3 separate regions of the Homo sapiens genome follow, and all the other regions are linked to region 3. The links are contacts of gene promoters, found by promoter capture Hi-C in blood cells and fetal thymus (Javierre and others, 2016). All regions are on one chromosome and are shown on one strand. Each heading gives the region's core, a stretch centred on a gene start or on the middle of the fragment in contact. The rest is flanking DNA. Distances are from core to core; before and after follow the strand shown.

Region 1 (2,700 bases), core at 166-2,665, 320 kb before region 3:
AGGCAGGAGAACCGCCTGAACTTGGGAGGTGGAGGTTGCAGTGAGCCGAGATCTCACCACTGCATGCCAAGCTGGGCAACAAGAGTGAGACTCCATCTCAAAAAAATTAAAGTTAAGCCTTTAAGGAAAAAGGCTTTACTTTTCACACTTAAAAGAATTATCAGGCCGGGCGCAGTGGCAGGCGCCTGTAGTCCCAGCTACTCGGCAGGAGAATCACTTGAACCCAGGAGGCGGAGGTTGCAGTGAGCTGAGATTGCACCACTGCACTCCTGCCTGGCGACAGAATGAGACTCTGCCTCAAAAAAAAAAAAAGAATTATCAGTATAGTAATTAGTTGGTATCATTAAACATCCAGTGAGTATCACCATCCAGTCAGTAGAGATGGGATTTCACCATGTTGCCCAGCCTGGTCTCAAACTCCTGGGTCCAAGAGATCTGCCCACCTCTGCCTCCCAAAGTGCTGGGATTATAGGCATGAGCCACCACACCAGGACTTTAAAAAATTTTTTTCTTGAATTGAGTAGTGCTTTAGAATTATCCATTAAGCTTCATGTTTATGTTTGCTGTATTTCACACACACATACAAAGTGTTGTTGTTGTTTTAAAGAAGAATGCTGTGTTTCCTTGGGACAGGTGAGGTGAGAGGAGAAACGTAGAAGGAGAAAAGTAGAGAGATGGAAAAAAGAGGGCTCTGAGGAATACAAAACCTGCAAGACAAAAGGGAAAAGAGTGGCTGTGGGGGCCGTGGACCCTGAGAAGGTGTTTCCAGGTTCTCCACAGAGGGACCCCAGACCTTGCATCTGCAAGCCCACTTGAGCTCCAGGCTTCTGGAGAGGTCTCCAGAGAGCGGGACTAGAAAGGCAGCCCCAGGAGTGATGATGGTGAGCCTGCCCGGGCCAGAGCAACTCCAGGACAAAAAGCAAAGGGGCCTGGGAAGTTGGAGAAAGTTTCTTTTCATTTTCTCTTTTTCATTTGAGAAAGGCAGCAGAGAGCAGTGGAAAGGACCAAAGGGCCCCGTGTCTGAATTGTAGCACTAGTAGTTGTGTGATACTGGGTTATGATACTCCATTAAATTTTTTTTTTTTACTCTCCTCTAATTTCTTTTACCAGACTCCATTAATTTTTATCTCAGCTTCATTATACAGGTTGAGTATCCCTTATCCAGAAGGGCTTCAGATTTTGTGTGTTTTTTTGTTTTTGTTTTTGGACTTTGGAATATTTGCATGTACATAATGAGATATCTTGGGGATGGGACGAAAGTCTAAACAAGAAATTCATTTGCGTTTCATATACATTTTATACACATAGCCTGAAGATAATTTTATTATGTATTTATGTATATAAACATAAAAATATGTGTGTATATTTATTTTTTTGAGATGGAATCTCACTCTATTGCAAGGCTGGAGTGCAGTGGCACGATTTTGGCTCACTGCAACCTCCACCTCCTGGGTTCAAGCGATTCTCCTGCCTCAGCCTCCTGAGTAGCTGGGACTACAGGAGTGTGCCACCACACCTGGCAAATTTTTGTATTTTTTAATAGAGACAGGGTTTCGCCATGTTGGCCAGGTTGATCTCGAACTCCTGACCTCAGGTGATCCACCCGCCTAGGCTTCCCAGAGTTCTGGGATTACAGGTGTGAGCCACTACACCTGGCCAATTTTATATTATATTTTAAAACAATTTTGTGGCTGGGCGGAGTGGCTCACACCTGTAATTCCAGCACTTTGGGAGGCTGAGGTGGAGCCCAGCATTTGGAGACCAGCCTGGCCAACATGTTGAAACCCCGTCTCTACTAAAAATACAAAAATTAGTCAGTAGTGGTAGCTGGTGCCTGTAATCCCAGTTTTTCGGGAGGCTGAGGCAGGAGAATCTCTTCAGCCTAGGAAGTGCAGTTTGCAGTGAGCCCAGATCGTGACACTGCACTCCAGCTTGGGCAACAGAGTGAGACCCCATCTCCAAAAATTAAAAAAAAAAAAAAGAAGCTGAGGTGGGCGGATCACTTGAGCCCAGGAGGTCAAGGCTTTGGTGAGCTGAGATCACGCCACTGCACTCCAGCCTGGGTGACAGAGCAAGACCCTGTCTCAAAAAATAAAATAATTTTGTGCATGAAACAAAATGTTGACTTCATTTGACTGAGACCTGTCATATGAGGTCAGGTGTGGAATTTTTCACTTGTGGCATCATGTTGGCACTTAAAAAGTATCAAATTTTGGAGTATTTTGGATTTCAGGTTTTGGATTAGAGATGCTCAGCTCAGCTTGCATGTAAATAGTAACAATAGCCAAGCTTTATTATATGCTTACAATAAGCCAGGCCCTGTAAACCTTGAAAATACAACTCATTTGGCCAGGCGCGGTGGCTCATGCCTGTAATCCCAGCACTTTGGGAGGCCAAGGCGGGCGGATCACGAGGCCAGGAGATAGAGAACATCTTGGCCAACATGGTGAAACCTCATCTCTACCAAAAATACTAAAAAAAATTAGCTGGGCATGGTGGCATGCACCTGTAGTCCCAGCTACCTGGGAGGCTGAGGCAGGAGAATCGCTTGAACCTGGGAGGCAGAGGTTGCTGTGAGCACCACTACTCCAGCCTGGCGACACAGCGTGACTGCATCTAAAAAATATATATATATATATATGCACATACATATATATATATGTCTTATTTACTCCTTACAACAGCCCTCGAAGGTATTAT
Region 2 (2,700 bases), core at 104-2,603, 390 kb before region 3:
TGCCTAGCAGGCTTTCACCCTCAGCTCGCCCTAACATGCCTATCAAGGGCTGGAACCCAGCAGCCCCAGGCAGATTCAGATGCCCGCAACAGGCCCTCACCCCATGCACGAGCTCTCACGGGCCACATCCATATGCTCCAAGAACAGCACACACAGCCTTCACATGCCAGTCTGGACTGAGCCTGTGTCTCCAGAAAGACAGTCCCCACCCAGCCACCAAGTCTCCCCAATCCACAGACAGGCAGACTAAGGCCACACAGGAAGCCCAAACTCACACAGCCCACCAGAGGCCAGGCCTGGGCAATAAACCCAAGAGTAGATTCTCAGACCTGGCCCTCATCCCCCAACTAGGCCATCCTTTCTCCCATAGCTTAACCACCCCTGCCTCCTCAGTTTCCGGGCCACTTGAAATGTGTTAGCTCAAGAACCTGAAGAGACAGGAGGCAGGACGCCTGGGTTTCTCTCCAATTTTGTAAAAAAAAAAAAAAAAAAACTCTCAGAGCCTCCATTTCTCTCTCTAGAGAATGAACAGGCATTGTCTAGGCCTGGGTAAATAGCTCTGAGGAGCTAGAGCCCAAAGCTCTGGGCCTCTATTTACACCTCCAGTGAATGGACACAAACTCAGCATCTCTCCAGAGCCACAACTCCCAGTGGCTCCAGCACAAGGGCTTGGGAGTGAGTAGAGAAGGGGAGGGACATCACCCAGACCATCTGTCCCTGTTGCTGCCTGTCCCCAGCAGCAGGAGTAGAGGCAGCAAGGTGGGGGGACGGAGGAGATGTGTCATCCAGCCCTGGAGTCAGCCATAGCCCCCCTCCCACCTCTAGCAAATTGGAAGCCTTTAGGAAGGGGGAGAGAAGAGCCCAGAACTAGTAAAGTTTTCTCAGGGTGGAAGCTGCATCCCGGGGCTGAGGGGGGCACCTCCAGCTGGGTATTGCCATGGTAACCAGGCTGACTCGAGGGCAGGCCTCCTCCCTTTAGGGACTGGCCACAGGTCAGCAGGCCTGAGCGCCCCGGCGGCTCTGGGCTGGGGCACCTCTCCCCCAGCCCGCAGATCAGGCCCGGGCCGGGCTGAGGGCCTTCCGCCCACCCCCAACAGGCTCGCAGGGTGCCCAGACTTACCTGGGAGAACTGAGGGGGCCAGGAGAGGTACGGGGGAGCGACTGCAAGCCCAGAGGAGTCCTGGCAGGGGTGAGGGCTGACGGGGGGACAACTTCAGCAGCTCATGTCCCGAGTGGGACGGGCAGGCCCGACTGGGAGCTCCAGTCCGCCGGCCGCACAAAGACTCGCACGCACTGCCTCGGCCCGCCCCGCGGCGGCCGCTGTCCCGGGGGAAAGTTACAATGGCCACTGGGCCGGGGGCCGGGGGCCAGGGGGCCGGCCTGGGGGGCGGGGGGCCGCGGGGAGTCCGGAGCCTTCTTTGTTTGCAAGGTTTCCCTCAACAATGGCTGCTCCGCTCTTTCCTCTCTCCTCCTCCTCCTTCTCGGCTCTCCCCGCCGCCGCCTCTTGCTGCCTCTGCCTCCGAGCAGCCCGCCCGCCCTCCCCAGGCCACCGGGCCCCTCTGCTGGGGGCACCAGGAGAGGCAGGACCCGGCACTCACACTCACTCACACTCGCACACTCAAACACACACGCAGCGCCCGCCGGCTGCCTGCCTTTCTCCCTTTCTCTCCCTGCCTCCCTCCCTCCCCGCTCGCTCTCTCCGAGCCTCTCTCAGAATGAGGCCCCAGGGCGGGCGGAGGGTGGAGCTGCCCCCACCGGCCCCGCCCCCTCCCTGAGAGGAAAGAGGAAGAGCAAGGGAGGGAGGGAGGCTGGGACGGAGGGACTGCTGAGAAAAACAAAAGAGAGACAGAGACTGGGAGAGACAGGGGACGGATCAGATTGGGCCAGGAGAGACCTGGATGGAGGAGAGGCCTGTGGGGGCCAGGAACGAAATGCAGCCCGCCTCCCCCGAGCCCCAGGCACGGTGCTCAGGAGTGAGCAGGTGGGCCAAAGCCACTGGCAGAGATGGAGGAGGGCGGGCTCCTCTCTGCAGACTCCAAGATCTTCAAAGCACCTCCCAAACCTCCCCCAAATCTTTCTCGCCCCTGTGATCGCTCAGGTTGAAGGCTGGCCCGGACTGCCAGCCTGGGCTCCCCTGGTGAAATCCTGGAGCAGCTGGGGGGAGAGGCTCCAGGGGGTTATTTTTGACAGACACACATTCTGACATCAGACTGTAAACACTGATTGGAGGAAGGGGGACACTCCAGGCTTCCCTGCCCCCAACCCAGCTAAATTCCAAGCCTTGACTTAGATCCCCCTTAACAGGAAGCCCCCTTCCCCACCACCACTGAAGACAAGTGGGTGCCAGGGAAAGAGGCATTGTCAGAGCTAGGGAAAGCCAACTTGGCCATCCAAGGGTCCCCAGAAGGAGCTTAGTTTGCTGCTGAATCCTCCCCACCACCCCAGAAAAAAAAACGTGTGGTTAGTGGATAGGACCTGTTCTCCCATCCAGCAGGGCATCCCAAGGGAGCAGATATTTCTATTTTTTTTCCTAAGGTAATTTTGTTGTAGCAGGAGGGAATATTTCTAAAACTTGGGTAGTGGGCCAGACCTTACTCGTGGACAAATAGGAAAAGGAAAATACATAGTACACACACACACACACAAACACACACACACACACGGGAAGGGGGAGCACGAACCTTCTATTTCCTTCTTTGC
Region 3 (2,796 bases), core at 297-2,796:
GAAGGAAAATTTAATGAAAACAACAACAAAAATATATTGGAAAAAGCAAGCAACTTGGAACTGGATCTTAGTCTGATGACTGGCTCCTCAATTCCTAAACTGGATGGTTTGAAATCTGTTATTTAACATCCCTGCATACACTGGGGATAGTAATTCCTATCTACCTAACAGAGCTGAAGCTTAAACGAGAACATTGTAATATGCCTAAGGTCCCAAGAGCTGAATCAACAAAGGGAATCTGACAGAGTCAGCTTACAACAGAGGGAACTGGTAGTTTTGCCTCAATGGAGGGACCTACAAGGGACACAGACAGGGATCAATCTCTGTGGGACCAAAGCTTTGAATCGAAGGCAGAAATGCAGTCGTTTTACAATTTTCTCCTTTCCCCCCAAAATAAGAGCAGTATTTAGATTCTTTCTATTGGTCAATATTGATGCTTCTGCATGGTGGTGCTGGCAAAAGGGATGACGGATAAAGTACTGGATTTAGGGCACCTCTGCTATGTGACCTTGGGCTCACGTTACGTCTTCGCGCTTCAGTTTTCTCATCGGTAACACGAAGATCAAAGTTCCTTTTAAACTATGCGTCCAGTTTTTGTGAGGATCCAACTCGAATGTATGTGAAAACGCCCTGGAAGCGCTAGAGCGCCAGGCAAATATTAAGTTTGGTAATTTTTTCCCCGTAAGAACTAGGCGTTCCAAAGAGGAGGACAACCTCTCTGCTTCCTTTGTCACTCTCCTTTCTTCTCGACCTTTACCAACTTTGTAATTTATAATCACAGTAATAGCTGACATCCTACAGCGGTTTCTGGCACCAGATTCTCGGGCCCCACCCAGATCCACACCACCAAGCCGCAGCGCCGGCTGAGACCGAAGGAAAACTTAGCCGTTCTCCACCCGCGGGCGGGCACTCGCCTCTAGGCCCCACCACCCAGAGTCCCGGAAGCCAATCCCCACAGCCCTGGAGCACTGCCCCGCCCCTTCAAGAGGGAAAACAATATGGCGGCAAGGAAGAATGGCAGGGGCGTGAGCCAATCACCGCAGAGGCCTAGCCTCATCCGGCAAGGCTAAGAGGCGGTATCATTGGCTAAGATGGACAGCCAGAGCAACCAATAGAGCGATCGGAAATGGGGGAGAGGGCGGGCGACGGGAATCTCACACAGCGGTTAAGGCCCCTAGAGCCAAGGGCCCAAGGACTGGCTTGGACTATAACTCTTTCCTTTATCCACTCCAGAGTTCTCCATCCCACTTTTGCTGGCTGGCCGCCTTGCCTGCGGACTATGTGATAAGGGGAGGAAGGAGGCGGCGGTGGCTGAACGCGCCTGACAGGCCGGGCCAGTGACAAAGAGCCGGCGGCTCAGGCTGAACCCCGGGAAGCGATCCTTTCGAGGAGGAGAGCCCAAGTCCCCTTATAGATAGGAAAGACGCAACTCACGTTGTCGATCACGACAGGCTGGTTGGCGATCACATCGTAGGACTCCATGGCAGAGGAATCTCTCCTTCTGGGGAAGGAACTGCCCAGCCGGGTCCGCCGCTAGCGCCACTGACACGCATGCGCAGTCTAGCCGCCGGTTCAGGGCGGCGAGGGAGCGGCCCGACCTCGCCTCTGAAGAACTACAATCCCCAGCAAGCTTTGCGCCTGGGTTAGCGATCTAGCTTGCTTTGTTGCCCGCCTAGTTTAAGATTGGGAGTCGCATTTCCAATGCGCAGTACCCTGGGATTTGTGGTCTCCCTAGATTAAACAGCCAGAGACACAGGTTGATGGTCATGTTGCATGCCTGGATCTGTAGTCCCTTTGAAGGAGTTCGCAGTGCATGCTGAGGTATGTAGTCTTCTCGAGTACTTGTCTGTAGTTCGGTTTGGATTGGTCGTAATTCATGGATGTTTGGATTTTGCAGATCAGCCCTGCCACTCCCCCCGACGTTCCCTTAGACAATATAAGGTTCTCATGTTTTTATTTGGGTCTGTAAGACTTTAATAAACATCTCCTAGCACCTCACACTCTAACAAAAAGGAAATGTTAACACACGTACGCGAGAGGACATATTCCTACAACAAAGGAAAACAATTTAAATTGCATAAAATTAGCTTTAAGTTTAAAAACCTGTACATTGTCGTTGCCTTTTGCATTTTCTTTTTTTCTGCATAACAGGCTAACATTGATCCGAAGATTGGCAATTGGAACTACTGGTATAGGTAATCTTTTGGTCATTAAAACATCATCTAAGGGTTTCAGAAACTGCTCGAGTATCTCTTTAATTTTCATAACGAGCTAGAATTGACACTGATGGTTGAGAAAATGGAGGTGAAGAGAGGTTATGTGTCACTGCTTTCAAATGAGCCCAGTGCATTTTTTTCTCTGGATTATGTTCTCCCCCAGCCCCCTTGAAATTTCAGGGACCTTTTTGTCAATAGCCCTAGAAAACATTAGATTTATTATCATCTATTAATACTAACGCCCCATGGATGAATGAATCAATCCATTGTCAGATTTATGTTTAAATCCTAGTTAGCAGCGCGTCAGCAAAACAGTAACAAATCCTTTGTTGGCGCACTTCTCGCTGCTTTCGTGGGACCTTAGCACCTCAGAGGGTGCTCAGCATCTCTAAACTTGGGTTCCTCCTAACACTAGGGGGAGACCAAGAGCCTTGGGACACTCCCAACACAGGGAGGGGAGGCGGGGCCTATTGTCAAGTCACACCTTCCCTGCCTGTGACTGGCACAGACATTAGCCAATGGGTGCTTGGATAGGGTGCGCCGGCGCCCCGCCCCCCTTAGCGCCCCGCCGCCCCGAGGC

The links. The method cuts DNA at HindIII sites, captures the fragments that hold promoters and counts their contacts. A CHiCAGO score of 5 or more calls a contact.
Region 1: a fragment that was not itself captured here is called in contact with the fragment with the promoter of ACTR1A in region 3 in 2 of 17 cell types (activated CD4 T cells and endothelial precursors); the score reaches 7.1 in activated CD4 T cells.
Region 2: a fragment that was not itself captured here is called in contact with the fragment with the promoter of ACTR1A in region 3 in 6 of 17 cell types (activated CD4 T cells, fetal thymus, naive CD4 T cells and 3 more); the score reaches 7.7 in activated CD4 T cells.

What each region holds. Positions count from the first base shown.
Region 1 is chr10:102,177,428-102,180,127 of GRCh38, forward strand. No RefSeq gene overlaps it. Among named protein-coding and RNA genes, the nearest start is that of NOLC1, 26 kb to the left of the region's middle. The HindIII fragment of the contact is 1,743 bases long and covers 545-2,287 here.
Region 2 is chr10:102,113,286-102,115,985 of GRCh38, forward strand. All of the region lies in intron 1 of LDB1 (LIM domain binding 1), which reads right to left. Among named protein-coding and RNA genes, the nearest start is that of LDB1, 5.7 kb to the right of the region's middle. RefSeq lists silencers at 1,069-1,158, 1,209-1,358, 1,379-1,528, 1,639-1,848. The HindIII fragment of the contact is 8,794 bases long and covers 1-2,700 here.
Region 3 is chr10:102,501,166-102,503,961 of GRCh38, forward strand. ACTR1A (actin related protein 1A) reads right to left here and starts at 1,547. Exons shown (of 11, transcript NM_005736.4): 1 at 1,435-1,547. The coding sequence starts at 1,482. It also overlaps a transcript of SUFU not described here. RefSeq lists enhancers at 1-31, 1,426-1,525 and silencers at 1,876-1,945, 2,623-2,796. The HindIII fragment of the contact is 1,293 bases long and covers 336-1,628 here.